Linked DNA regions of Homo sapiens: all the other regions are linked to region 1. Evidence: promoter capture Hi-C in 16 types of primary human blood cells and fetal thymus (Javierre and others, 2016). All regions are on one chromosome and are shown on one strand. The core of a region is centred on a gene start or on the middle of the fragment in contact, and the rest is flanking DNA. Distances in the headings are between cores, read along the strand shown. Region 1 holds the start of PADI2 (peptidyl arginine deiminase 2). Region 2 has its middle 4.3 kb from the start of RCC2. Region 3 holds the start of NBPF1 (NBPF member 1). Region 4 overlaps RCC2 (regulator of chromosome condensation 2). Region 5 overlaps ARHGEF10L (Rho guanine nucleotide exchange factor 10 like).

Region 1 (2,846 bases), core at 332-2,831:
GAGGCAGGTAGATCACCTGAGATCAGGAGTTCAAAACCAGCCTGGCCAACATGGAGAAACCCCGTCTCTACTAAAAATACAAAATTAGCTGGGTGTGGTGGTGCCTGCCTGTAATCCCAGCTACTTGGGAGGCTGAGGCAGGAGAATCAATTAAACCTGGGAGGCGGAGGTTGCAATGAGCTGAGATGGCGCCATTGTACTCCAGCCTGGGTAACAAGAGGAAAACTCTGTCTCAAAAAAAAAAAAAAAAAACAGTTACTGGCCTCTCCCTGGGTCTGTGAGCTGTGCCTTTGGGGGACAAATGACCTCCTGGCTAAAACTCGGGCCTTCCCTCTTCCCCACTCACATTCCTCCCAAATCCCTGCCACTCAGAAGCAGCTGGGCTCTTCACCACCTCCTAATTTGGGCCGCCTCAGGGAGAAGGTTGGAGTCCAAGGGCTGGGTATATCAGCACTGGGCACTTGTGGGCCTCACCCCTCTTGTCTGGGGGCACCCGTTCCTGGAGCTCCATCTTCCATCAGCTCTAACTCCTTCCCAAACACACATCCCCTCCGCCCCACTCCTTCCCTCCCACGGCCTCTGCCCACCCCCCCTCAGTTTCTGTCCTCACCTACCAAAGACCACTTCCTCACACAGGGCTGATGTATGTGTCTGAACAGCACTCCCACTGGGTCCCAGGGGAAGGGCTGGGACATGGGAGGGGCTGGCCGAGGCCCACACTGATTGTCATCCTACATCTCAGCCTCTGTGAGACACACGATGACCTCTGGGTGGCACCCCCCTTCCCTTGGTGGCCCAGGCCAGAACCGGGGCCCTAATCCTTACCCCTCTCCTCTCCCTCCACCCACACATCCTATCAGTCACCAGGTGCCACCAAAATCCCAGTCCCTAAGCAGTGGCCGGGTCAGTCCCCACCTCTCCAGCTCTGGCCACAGCCAGGGGCTTCCTTGCCCCTCCCCAGCCCAGAATGACCCATTTCACGAGCACACCCGACCACGGCTCGCGGAGACAACCACTCCAGGCTCCCATCTCCCACCCTCCAATGCCTTGGCTTGGCGTCCTGGTCTCCCTCAGCTGCCGGGTTCCCCATCCCCACCGCTTCCCGTTTTCTCTATGGTGAGGTTCATCTGACTGTTGGGGGATGGGGGTACCGGGCTGCACCCGGCTTTGCACAGGCAGCTCCCTCTCCTCGCCTTTAATTTGCAAACGCCTCCTTTAAGAAGGTTCCAGGATCGTCTTCTCTGGGAAGGCTTCCTGGCCCCCAGGCTGGGTTAGGGCACCCTCTTTGTGTTCCCACATTTGCATTTTCAGCCCCACTGGGCTGGGGCGTCCGGAGGGGAGCTAGGGCCCTCCAACACCTGGGCGCCCACCGAAGGTTTGTCGAATGAAAGAATGACAATCCAACCATGGAAAGCACAAAACTGGTCCCTGATGACTTCGCCACGACCTCAGCGGGGCGGGACGAGTTAGGGGCGGGACCACGCTTGACGGACAGGCCCGCAGCCCACTGCGAGAGGACTGGGGCGGGCCGCCCCGCCCACCGGCCGCTGGATAAGGCTGCGCGCGGGGCCGTGGGGCGCAGGCTGCTGGAGAAGGCGCACCTGCTGCAGGTGCTCCCGGCCGCCCCGGACCAGCGAGCGCGGGCACTGCGGCGGGGAGGATGCTGCGCGAGCGGACCGTGCGGCTGCAGTACGGGAGCCGCGTGGAGGCGGTGTACGTGCTGGGCACCTACCTCTGGACCGATGTCTACAGGTGAGCCGGCCCACCGTGATGCCCGGGCCGAGATCTCGAGCCCAGAAATCCTGAGACGCGCTCAGACTCGGGGACGTGGACAGCCTTTGTCCAGCCCGAGTTGTCCCTCATCCCGAGCCCCCGAGCCCAGAAATCCTAAGAATCTCATCCAGAAACCTGACAACCCCCGAACCTTGTGTCCACCTTCCAGAAACCCTGAGACTCTCCCAGACCCCCTAACACAGCCTCAGCCCCAGCTCCCTCACAGACCCTCCCTTTCACCCGTAACCCTCCGTCTGGCCCTCTCCAGTTCTCCTCCCGGGGGACCTCACACCCCTTCAGCTTCCCTGCCGTCCTCTCCCCTTTCACTTCCCCTCCGCACCTCACTTCCCCTCGGACCCACCTCAACCCAGCCCCTCTCCTGCTTCCCACTCCCAGTTCAGCGGAGCTTCCGCGGAGACTTGCCGGGGACTGGGGCAGGACCCGAAGGGAGCTGCCCTGAGGCTGAATCCGGCCCTGGAGGTTACTCAGGCTCCGATTTCGCCCTGTGGGGGCTGCTGGTGGTTGCTTGTCCCCAGGCACTGGCCCTGAGCTCCGTGTCCCCAGATACCTTCCCCTGACTTCATTCTGAGACCACAGAGGGACAATATTCTACCCAGCTGACGACGGGGACTTGGGGTGTATAGCGGGGTACTTTGTTGGAAAAGGATCCTGATTCAGAGTTCTGCTCCCTCCCCTTCTCTCTGTCCAAGAACTTGGTAGAGTGCGGGATGTCCGAGACAGCTGAAGGTAGGGTAGGGCCCTACCACTCCCCCCGCAATCCCAGAAAGCAGCCAAGTCCAATGATCTGTCTCCCTGAGTAATGGGACGGGGCCTTGGAAAGGTGTGGCTGGTGTGAATGAAAGGGTGGGGTTATGCTGGGGTTTGATCTGCCCCCTCTATTCCAAGCATTTAAAACCTCCCCATTGCTAGGGTTGGAGGGGTCAGTGCTGGGGGCAGGGAGCATGCAGGACTCTGAGGTGGGACCCTGTGCTGACACCGGATGAGTCCCCTATCCTCTCTGCCTCAAGCTGAACTCACACGGAGGCACCATCGTGGTTTATGGCTCTCAAATC
Region 2 (2,700 bases), core at 77-2,576, 320 kb before region 1:
GGCTAATTTTTTGTATTTTTAGTAGAGACGGGGTTTCACCGTGTTAGCCAGGATGGTCTCGATCTCTTGACCTCGTGATCCACCCTCCTCGGCCTCCCAAAATGTTGGGATTACAGGCGTGAGCCACTGCGCCCAGCTAGATGCATCTTAAAGTATGAGAAACCACCTTTTGAATGGCTTCCACAGGGTATGGAAAAGTGGTATGATTTCAGTAGCACTTCTCATACTTTTTTTTTTTTTGAGATGGAGTTTCGCTCTTGTTGCCCAGGCTGGAGTGCAATGGCGCAATCTCCGCTCACCACGCCCGGCTAATTTTTAGTAGAGACGGGGTTTCTCCATGTTGGTCAGGCTGGTCTCGAACTCCTGACCTCAGGTGATCTGCCCGCCTCAGCCTCCCAAAGTGCTGGGATTATAGGTGTGAGCTACCATGCCTGGCTGCACCTCTCATACTTTAAGATGCATAAAAATCACCTGTTAAAAATGCACATTCTGGGCCGGGTGTGATGGCTCACGCCTGTAATTCCAGCACTTTGGGAGGTCGAGGTGGGTGGATCACCTGAGGTCAGGAGTTCGAGACCAGCCTGGCCAACATGGCAAAACCCCGTCTCTACTAAAAATACAAAAAATTAGCTGGGTGTGGTGGCAGGTGCCTGTAATCCCAGCTATTTGTGAGGATGAGGCAGGAGAATCGCTTGAACTGGGAGGTGGAGGTTGCAGTGAGCCCAAATTGCGCTACTGCACTCCAGCCTGGGCAACAAGAGGGAAACTCCAACTCAAAAAAAAAAAAAAAAAAAAAAAACACATTCTGATTCAGTAGGTCTGGGGGCTGAACCTGAGATTCAGTGTTTATTTTTATTTTTTTGAGACAGGGTCTCACTCTGTCACCTAAGCTGGAGTGCAATGGCATGATCATGGCTCACAGCAGCCTGGACTTCCCAGGCTCTGGCGATTTTCCCACCTCAGCCTCCAAAGTAGCTGGGACTACAGGTTTGCGTCACCACACCTGACTAATTTTTTTCTTTTCTTTTCTTTTATTTGAGAGAAGTCTCACTCTTATCCCCCAGGTTTGAGTGCAATGGCTCGATCTTGGCTCACTGCAACCTCCGCCTCCCGGGTTCAAACGATTCTCCTGCCTCTGCCTCCCAAGTAACTGGGATTAAGTTGCCTGCCACCACGCCCGGCTAATTTTTGTATATTTTAGCAGAGACGGGAGTTTCACCATGTTGGCCAGGCTGGTTTCGAACTCCTGACCTCAAGTGATCTGCCCGCCTCGGCCTCCCAAAGTGCTGGGATTACAGGCGTGAGCCACTGCGCCTGGCCGCGGCTGGCTAATTTTTTTCTAATTTTTGTAGAGATGGGGTCTCACCATGTTGTCCAGGCTGGTCTCCAACTCCTGGGCTCAAGCAATCGTCCTGCCTCAGCCTCCCAAAGTGCTGGGATTACAGGCGTGTACCACCACGCCTGGCCAGATTCTGTGTTTCTGACAATCCTCCTACTGATGCAGATGCCTGTACACTTCCTGGCTATCCTATCTGCCAGCTGTGTGGCCTCAGGAGGCCTCAGCATCTCCCTGGGCTTCAGTTCTTCCGCTGGATATTATTTAGATGAACAAACATATATTGACAGCTTACTACACGCCGGGCTGCTCTGGGTGCTTGCTAGAAAAACAAAGATGAAGAAGCCACAAGCCAAGCCCAGGCATGCCTCACAGACAGAGAACTTAAAGGTCCAACTACAATATTTAAAGACTCTGCGTTTGAAAATTTCATGACTCATTGGCAGAAATAGGACGACCGGATCTGCATCTCCCAGAAAACATCTCTCCAAACACTATGACAGGGATTCCCCGCTGACTACTGTCCTCAGAATCAGGGAATACGAAATCCAGAAGTAACCTCAAGAGAAATTTAGCCCAAACTCTATCTTGCCATTTTACAGAGAGGAGAAACTAGAGAACAGATGCAGAAAGAGTGGGGTCTGGAGGAAATTACTGGTTTTCCAGCTATGCTTTCGAAGGCTGTGATGTCCAACAGGAATAACATATGAGCTACAAAAAACTTAATATGTAATATTAAATTTTGTGGTAGTCACATTGAAAAGAGTAAAAAGAAGCCAGGCACAGTGACACATGCCTATAATCCTAGCACTGTGGGAGGCCAAGGCAAAAGGATTGCTTGAGGTCAGGAGTTTGAGACCAGCCTGGGGAACATAGTGAGACCTTGTCTCCACAAAAAAATTTTAAAAATTAGCTGGGCGTGGAGGTGCACGTCTACAGTCTCAGCTACTAGGGTGGCTGAGGCAGGAGAACTGTTTGACCCCAGGAGGTCGAGGCTGTAGTGAGCCAAGATGGCGCCACTACAGTCCAGCCTAGGTGACAGAGTGAGACCCAGTTTCCAAAAAAAAAAAAAGAGAAAGAATCGTTTCCATTGGTTAGCGCATCACTCCCAGGATCACTGGTTTCATTTTTATAGACACTGGATCAGAAAATTAATCTTTCAAGTACAGGTGTAGCTTTCTGTAGCCAAGTTGAATAGAATTACACTTCTGAGGCTGGGCACAGTGGCTCACGCCTGTAATCCTAGCACTTTGGGAGGCGAAGGCGGGCAAATCACGAGGTCAGAAGTTCAAGACCAGCCTGGCCAACATGGTGAAACCCCGTCTCTACTAAAAATACAAAATTAGCTAGGCGTGGTGGTATGC
Region 3 (2,700 bases), core at 155-2,654, 510 kb after region 1:
ACCAAAATAACCACCCGATTACAGTTTCATGCAATGTGATAGGAGTAAGGGACCACCATAGGGAGGTCAGAAGGTGCTTTTCAGAGGTGGAGACTACAGCTGTTCTCAGAAGAATAGGGGTTAGAAGAACTTTCCAGGCACAGAGCAAAGCATGAGCAAAAGCTCTGTGGAGGCCAGGAAGCTGGTAAATAGGGAATAAAAGAGGCCAGTTTGGCTGGAGCAGAGAGAGCAGAACAGAATTGGTCTGAGTAGTGAGAAGAGATGAAGAAGTGGGCAAGGCGCCTGGCCATTCGGGGCTTGGTTAGTTAGGAGGTTTTGTCTAAGAGAATGGGAAGGTGTTTAAGTGCTTTAGGCTGGGAAGTGACACGGTCACATTATATTTTGGAAAAGCCACTCTGCCTGTTGTGTTGAGATTAGAGAGGCGATAAAGGGGATATGGGTAAACCACAAGAAGACTAGGTCAGTAGTCCCTCGACCCTCACTCCCCAGGTGAAGGCAGCCTAGACTAGGGTGGTGACGGAGGAGATAGAAGAGGACAGATTCAAGGAAAATTTGGAAGGTAAAAACCAGTAGGATTTGCTGACGGATGGAGTATAGGAGGGGAGAGGTAGATTATCAGGGATGTATCTTAGTTTTCTTATACAAGATAGATTCAGTTGCAATGAAATTGTTAACTGAAATTGACTTTAAATAATGGCATGACCTAAAGTTATGCAAACATTTGCCTTAGATAAAATATCAAGTTTTCAAAGTTTTTAGCTGGGTGGACGGCATGGCTTTACTTCCTATTTCTTGGTATTCTAATCCTGTTGAAAAAAAAAGTTTTTCTTTTTCTCAAAGGCTTATTTCAGTGGAAGCCCATCTGCAAAATCTGTTAATAAATTTAAATTAGAAAATAACTACAAGTGCCATTGACACATTGGTTATTCTTTTTGAGAGTGACCTAAGGCCACCTCTGGGAGAGCTGGGGGCTCTTCTGAAGCCTGCCCGACTGCACCGCGTGCCCGTGCCTGGAAGTCAGATTCGGGGCGGTGCGGCAGCGCGAGGCCTGCAGTCCTAAGCGCGGGGTCGCTCCAGCCCCAGAGGGGGTGTGTCTCCTGCCTCTTCAACCTGGCAGGGGCTGTTCAAGTGGCCGGGGAAACCAGCGATTTGGAGGGTCGAGGGCTGGTGCTTTGAAAGACAGGCGGAGGGGAGAGAGGGATTTCCCCGTCCCCGCTGCACTCGGTCCTTCCCCTGGGTTACTCCTTTCCTCCGCCTGCGCGGCCCCTAACCTGCTCGAACCCGTTGTGCAGAAGAGGCCGCCGGGTCCCTTTAAGGCCCCGCCGCGCCTGCGCCTTGGGTTATCCTGACACGCCCATCGGGATCCTGAGGAGCCAGTGGGCTGCAGGCGCAGGCGCAGGCGAGGGGCTGGGTGGCGGTTGAGACAGCGGCGGTACTGGGAGGCGTAGGTGAGGGTCGCGAGGCTGCCCGAGCTTCTGAGCGAGCGCGGTGCTTTTGGGAACGCGGGACGGGCGATCTGCGGCGCCAGGAGCTGGGCCGAGGCGCGGCGGCGCGGCTGCCGGCTGCCCTGTGAATGGGAAGTTACGCGAAGTCCACCCAGCGTTTCTGAGGTGAGGGCGCCGCGCCAGGCTGGGCGGGCGGTGAATCCGGGACCCGCGGGCGCACAGCTGGGTCGAGGCGCGGCCGTGGCAAGTTTTGTTGCGCGAGCGCGGGGGCGGGTGGGGGCTGTGGGGGGTCGTGCACCGCCGGGGCCTGAGTTCCCCGCGCTGGATTCTTCGCCTGCCGCTGCCGCCCGCAGCCCAACTCTCGTGGGCGCTGGGGAAGAAACTCGCTGGCGGGTGTTCTGTGGCATCCCAGGGGGTGGAGGGACGGAGCAGCTTCGGGGGCACGTCCTCCTATATCCTGTAGAGGACACTGACCCCGCACCCCACCCTCCAGGCCAGAAATCCGTTCCCTCTGCGGACCTGAGAGGCGAGCGCGCTCGCGCCCCTGACTTGCAAAGTTGGGGTCTTTACTGGCCTCCGGGCTTCTGCTCCTGGCGGTGTCTCCAGGCTGGTGATGGGCAAGCCAGGTGTGCCAGCTCCAGGATGCACATGAGCAGCATTTGTAGCCATCACTGAATCACCTCCTGACTAGCGGGGCAAGCCTCAAATGAACCGCAGGATTTCGGGTAGATTGGATTGTGGGGTTGCTGTTTGCACTCCAAAGAGTTGCTGTGATTTCCCTGCGTCTGGCTGGCTGGCTGGCTTCTTAGATCATCTCATGTGGCGTCCTTTCAGCGGAGAGTTAACCAAGACGTTTGGCCTGGCTTCCTTGTTTTCCTCCTATCTTTTGCTTAGAGCTGCTTTCGAAAAGAAGTCTTTTCTGGCAGTGGTATCTTTTCTTTGGGTTACAGTGTTGTTCATCCTTTCTTTGCCAAAAGAATGAATCCCAGTGCTTCAGGAAGTTAAAGAAAAGATCTGCTGGTAGTGTTCTGAGCTGATATGCGTTAGTAGCTTTTTGTTTTTAAATTCTATTGGTAAAATTTCACTAGTGAACCAGAAGCTACTTTTTCTATTCTGAAATGCTAGCTTTAAGATTTCTGAGAACTTTGCGTCAAAGAAATCTTGGAAAAGTTACTGAAGTATACAGAAGTTCACAATTTTACATGTGCAGGTGGCCCGGGCGCAGTGATCACACCTGTAATCCCAGCACTTTGGG
Region 4 (2,700 bases), core at 7-2,506, 300 kb before region 1:
TTCTGATCTCTCGCTGAGCTTCACTTGCGTGGTGGCTCTGAAAGCGCCCTCAGTTCTGACCCTGTGGGCAGGGACAATGTATGTCCCGCCATCAAGACGTGTGATCCCCGAGCAGACAGTGCAGTTGGTGAGGACAGGGTTGGAAGGTGTCACAGGCCCACTGCTCGCCACTCTAGAAGGCAGGGGGCGGCGTCTGGTGTGAGTAGAGTACCACGGGAGGGTGGCTGACGCATTGCTCATGTGGGGTCTCCATCTGTGGCCCGCTCACCCTGTCCTGCCGCATCTCAGTCCACTGAGACTTGCACTTGTTGCTCTGTATTCACATGCCTTTCACATGAACTTGGGCAGCTCCCATTGGAAGCTGGTGTATCTGCCTCTCCTGCTCGAGTGCCAGTGCTGGCCCTTCAGCCCGCCGTTCTTTAATTAGAGCGAGTCAGAGGCTGGTTTCCCTTCGTCGCAATTCCTTCTGTAGTCAGAGGCTGCTCCTGCAAGCCTTCTCCAGGACAGCTGGAACTCATCTTAATGGCTCTGCTGTCTGCCTTTATCACAACCTAAGGGTGAAAAGTTCATTGCTGGAGAAGGTTGCAAAACCCCCTAGAATTGCCCTGACTTCTCACCACTGTAAGATCTCCGTCAGTTTCCCCACGTCAGGTTACATGTGTGGTTTTTCTCTTATCGGGAGGGATCCGAGAGTGGCCGGTTGAATTTTTGTTTTGGAACTTGGTAGTTTGTGTTGAAACCTAGATGCGGTGTAGGGGCTCCCAGCCCTCCTTTTGGCCCACCCAACTTCCACGTCTGTTTGGAGTTGAATTTGGTTCTGCAGAGGACTTGGGGGTAGGGGTTGGCCCTCAGGCCTGCCTTCCGCTGGAATTCACAGATACAGGGCCTTGGTCGCACCTGCAGCAGTCCTGGAGGTGGGGCTGGGCGTGTTGTGTTGAGGGTGGATCTGTGCTTTGTCACCAGGGTTCCTGTGGCTGAGAGTCCTTGAGGGGCGATCCCTAGGGGTGGGATTGGCACTGTTATGTGAGCACCATTTACAGGGTAGAAAAAGGAAGAGAAATATTGGGCAGACACCAAATGGTCCTCAGTGGATGCCCAGAGCACCAAAGTGATTAAACTCTGGTGAGCCAGGTGTCAAAATGGGGTGCTGTCTTAAAATACATCTCAGAGGGTAGGGACGGGGTGGTTGTCTTGCAGGCACTCTAAGTGGGAACGGCGTGTTTCTGCGAGCATGCCCGCCTGTGCATGGTGTCCCTACCACACTGAGCCTCTCATTTCCCTTTGTAGCAGAGACGTGGGAGGTGTGCACGGGTGGTCCCGCTGCTGCCCCAGGGAAGGAGGTCCGGGGAGCTGCAGCAGGCGCCATTCCAGCGGGCAGAGGGCCGGGGCGTTCTTTGCTCTGGATCTTGGCTGTTGGGAATTTGGAGGGTACCTTCCAGAGACAGATGGGCATCATTTGAGAGTGTGTTTGTACTCGCCTTCTCCTGGTGGTGCCGCCTGGACCACCCTCTCTCTTTTCTACTTTCTCTCATGTGATCTGCAGGTCGAAATGAGAAGGGGCAGCTGGGACATGGTGACACCAAGAGAGTAGAAGCCCCTAGACTCATCGAGGGTCTTAGCCACGAAGTGATTGTGTCTGCAGCATGTGGGCGGAACCACACCTTGGCCTTGACGGGTAAGGAGGTGGCTGCTGGTGTCTCCTCTCAGTTTGGCAAGAGGCCAGGTGGTCTGCCTTGGGGATGGGGCGTGGGGTGGTGGAGTTCCCCTTGTGACTCTTGGTCAGGATCAGAAAGAGGCCCTGAGAACCTTGGCATGGAGTGGCTTCTTGAGGGCATTGGGAGCCTCCCCAGTGGCCATAGGAGGCCCATCTGGGAGTAGGAGACGCTGCCCTCTGTTTCTCTGCACACCCAGTTTCTGATGTGAAATGGCTTTGCTGTGAAGCGTCTGCACTGCCAGCTTTTGGGCAGTCTCACTTGCCTTCTGCCTGGCAAATGAGCTGTTTTTATTATTTTGATGCCTTTGATTCTAAATCTAGTTCAAAACATTCACCATTATCTTCCCTTTTGTGATATTTTTCCTTTCTTCCAGAAACGGGCTCCGTGTTTGCGTTTGGGGAAAACAAGATGGGGCAGCTGGGCCTTGGCAACCAGACAGACGCTGTTCCCAGCCCCGCGCAGGTGACCCCTCCTCAGCTCCGGCTCCATGGCTTTTTGTTTCTCTTTACTTTTGTGTTTGATTTTCTAAGGTGGGGTCTCCGTTTGAGTTAATTTACCCCTTGTAAAAACAGGGTCTGGATGTTTAGTTACATGCTGTAGAGTTTTTTTGTTTGTTTTTTTGTTTTTTGTTTTTTTTTGAGAACGGAGTTTCACTCTTTTTGCCCAGGCTGGAGTGCAATGGCGCAATCTCGGCTCACTGCAACCTCCGCCTCCCGGGTTCAAGTGATTCCCCGGCCTCAGCCTCTGGAGTAGCTGGGATTACAGGCATGTGCCACCACACCTGGCTAATTTTGTATTTTTAGTAGAGACGGGGTTTCTCCATGTTGGTCAGGCTGGTCTGGAACTCCTGACCTCAGGTGATCCACCCACCTCGGCCTCCCAAAGTACTGGGATTACAGGTGTGAGCCACTGCACACAGCCTTGCTATAGTTTTTAAAACAGGCTTAGTTTGTGGTCGGGTTGAAAACCATCCTGAAAACATTTT
Region 5 (2,700 bases), core at 164-2,663, 460 kb before region 1:
CCTCAGACATAATTTTAAGCACTTTACAAATATTAACGTCTATTATTCCAAATTATAAATGAGAAAATGAGACCAAGAATGGTTAAGTAACTTGCCCAAGATCACACAGCTAGGAAGAGCCAGGGTTCGAACCCAGGCCATGGGGCTCTGGAGTCTGTGCTTAGAAGCAGCTACTACACTCTAGCACCTTTCAAGACTCAAACGATACAACAGGTAGACAATGAAAAGTTAGTCTCCGAGCCGGGCACAGTGTCTCACGCCTGTATCTCAGCACTTTGGGAGGCTGAGGTGGGCGGATCACTTCAGGTCAGGAGTTCGAGACCAGCCTGGCCAACGTGGTGAAACTCCATCTCTACTAAAAATACAAAAATTAGCTGGGCATGGTGGCACATGCCTTTAATCCCAGCTACTCAGTAGGCTGAGGCAGGAGAATCACTTGAACGTGGGAGGCGGAGGTTGCAGTGAGCCAAGACCGTGCCACCGCACTCCAGTCTGGGAAACAGAGCAAGACTCTGTCTCAAAAAATTAAAAAAAAAAAAGTTAGTCAACCTCCCACCCTGGTTGCCCTAATCCCCCAGTCCCCCAGAAGAGATGACTGTTACTGACTTCTCAAGAATCCTTCCAGAACTCTCCCATGCATGGGCCAACTTGCATATCTGCAGATATGCCTTGTTTCATACAGAAGGAGCACACAGCACTCACAGTGCTGCAACTGCCTTTTTAACCTAAATCTCAGTGATGATTTCAGAATAGTACTAATACATAGAAATCAACCCCACTTTTTTTAACAGCTGCATAGTAGGTTTGGTTTTGTTTTGAGGTAGGTGTTTTTTGTGGGGGTATAATTTATATAGCCCCCATCGATAGGTACTGAGGCTGCTTTGGTCTCGATTTCCCAGGTTGGAGTGCAGTGGCACAATCATGGCTCACTGTAGCCTGGAACTCCTGGGTCAAGTGATCCTCTCGCCTCAGCCTCCCCAGTAGCTGGGACTACAGGCACACACCACCATGCCTGGCTAATTTTTTAAAATTTTTTCTAGAGATAGGGTCTTACTCTGTTGCCCAGGCTGGTCCCAAACTCCTGGGCTCAAGCCATCCTCCCTTGTTGACCTCAACAAGTGCTGGGATCACAGATGTGAACCCTGACACCTGCCTGCATTTCTCACTGTGACTGATGATACCAGTTACTCTCTGCTAAGCGTGTGACTGTGCCTTTTAGACCCACGCTGAAAACTCTCAGGACTAAACTTTTACTTCAGCAAAGGATTTTGGAAAACAAACCTGTAGCTGCACGGCACTCCTGCTACAGGGCCCCCTCCCAGTGGGCTCATTCAAAACCTCTGAGGTCTGCTCAGCCTTTCTCTGAGGGCTCTGCTGCCCCAAGAGTTCCAGGAGGGAAGCAGCAGAAAGACCTATACCCATTTTACAGAAGGAAAAAGGGAGGCACTTTGCCCAGCCTCCTGTCCAAATTGCTCCTTAAATACAATTTGATGATGATACAGAAAGAGGCTGCTACTCTACCCTGGGGCCAAAACCCAGGATCCTTCCCTTCCAGGGCAGAAAGTCCAATGTCCTCCCCTTTCTTCACCCTTTGGGACTGATTCCTGCCCTCCCCTCCAAAGCCCAAGGCTTTCCCTAGAAAGGAAGAGAGACACCAACATGTATGGAGCCTGACACTTTATTAGCATTATTCTATCTAATTCTCGTAACACCCCAGCTTACGGATGAGGAAACAGAGGCTCAGAGAAGCAAATATTTGCCCCAGGTCACAGAAGCAAGAGGACAAGGTGACCACACTAGGATTCCAGCCAGTGAGCACTGACCCTAAAGCCTAATCTCAATCCTCTGATCGCACTGCCTCCCTAGCCTTTGGGGCTGGAATCTGGAAGGTGTTTGCTACAGGCTAATGCGGGGCTCTGAAGTGTCGGGACGAGGACGCAGCCCAGCAAGCCCTGCCCATACCCATAGGCCTGTGGCCACCATTTTGCACACACAGGCTGTTAGTCTCAGAAGGATGTGGACAAGGGAGTGGGGATGGCTCACAGCAGCCCCCTGCCACCACCACAGATCCTCACGGGGTTAGAAAAGAGTTCAGGTTCCCCAATACCACCTGGGTTCCACTCAGCAGCTATGAGACCTTGGATGAGTTAATCCTATCTCTGGGCCTCAGTTTACTCATCTGCAAAATGGGGATTAAAAAGTACCCACTTCAGGCCAGTCATGGTGGCTCATGCCTGTAATCCCAGCACTTTGGGAGGCCGGGGCAGGCAGATCACTTGAGGTCAGGAGTTCGAAACCAGCCTGGCCAACATGGTGAAACCCCATCTCTACTAAAAATACAAAAAATTAGCCAGCCGTGGTGGCACATGCCTGTAGTCCCAGCTACTCGAGAAGCTGAAGCAGGAGAATCACTTGAACCTGGGAGGTGGATGTTGCAGTGAGCCAAGATCACACCACTGCCACTCCAGCCTAGGCGACAGAGCAAGACTGTCTCAAAAATAAATAAATAAATAAACAATAACCATTCTCATCTTTAAAAAGAGAACTAATACAAAAGCATGGCATGTCAGAACCAGAAAGTAGCTCCAAGAGGGCAGTGTTGCTCTTGCTTTACAGATGTGGAAACTGAGTCCAAAGGAGGAGGGCACTGCCCACAGCACGGTGACTCTCCAGGCGGTGACACCGAAGGCCACGTTTAGA

Evidence for each region. Contacts are between HindIII fragments. The CHiCAGO score rates a contact against its expected background, and 5 or more counts as called.
Region 2: a contact is called between a fragment that was not itself captured here and the fragment with the promoter of PADI2 in region 1, in 2 of 17 cell types (neutrophils and monocytes). The highest score is 14.4, in neutrophils.
Region 3: a fragment that was not itself captured here is called in contact with the fragment with the promoter of PADI2 in region 1 in 1 of 17 cell types (neutrophils); the score reaches 8.9 in neutrophils.
Region 4: a fragment that was not itself captured here is called in contact with the fragment with the promoter of PADI2 in region 1 in 8 of 17 cell types (neutrophils, M0 macrophages, M2 macrophages and 5 more); the score reaches 12.0 in neutrophils.
Region 5: a contact is called between a fragment that was not itself captured here and the fragment with the promoter of PADI2 in region 1, in 1 of 17 cell types (monocytes). The highest score is 6.2, in monocytes.

What each region holds. Positions count from the first base shown.
Region 1 is chr1:17,118,186-17,121,031 of GRCh38, reverse strand. PADI2 (peptidyl arginine deiminase 2) reads left to right here and starts at 1,581. Exons shown (of 16, transcript NM_007365.3): 1 at 1,581-1,752. The coding sequence starts at 1,661. RefSeq lists an enhancer at 456-990 and a silencer at 1,562-1,771. The HindIII fragment of the contact is 8,283 bases long and covers 1-2,846 here.
Region 2 is chr1:17,442,635-17,445,334 of GRCh38, reverse strand. No RefSeq gene overlaps it. Among named protein-coding and RNA genes, the nearest start is that of RCC2, 4.3 kb to the right of the region's middle. The HindIII fragment of the contact is 6,214 bases long and covers 1-2,700 here.
Region 3 is chr1:16,612,248-16,614,947 of GRCh38, reverse strand. It overlaps NBPF1 (NBPF member 1), which reads left to right and starts at 1,384. Exons shown (of 18, transcript NM_001405701.2): 1 at 1,384-1,610. RefSeq lists an enhancer at 583-1,540. The HindIII fragment of the contact is 6,693 bases long and covers 1-2,700 here.
Region 4 is chr1:17,421,680-17,424,379 of GRCh38, reverse strand. It overlaps RCC2 (regulator of chromosome condensation 2), which reads left to right. Exons shown (of 13, transcript NM_018715.4): 5 at 1,544-1,675; 6 at 2,089-2,177. Among named protein-coding and RNA genes, the nearest start is that of RCC2, 17 kb to the left of the region's middle. RefSeq lists an enhancer at 1,575-2,329. The HindIII fragment of the contact is 4,272 bases long and covers 1-2,700 here.
Region 5 is chr1:17,576,858-17,579,557 of GRCh38, reverse strand. The region is part of intron 1 of ARHGEF10L (Rho guanine nucleotide exchange factor 10 like); the gene reads right to left. Among named protein-coding and RNA genes, the nearest start is that of ARHGEF10L, 39 kb to the right of the region's middle. The HindIII fragment of the contact is 5,529 bases long and covers 1-2,700 here.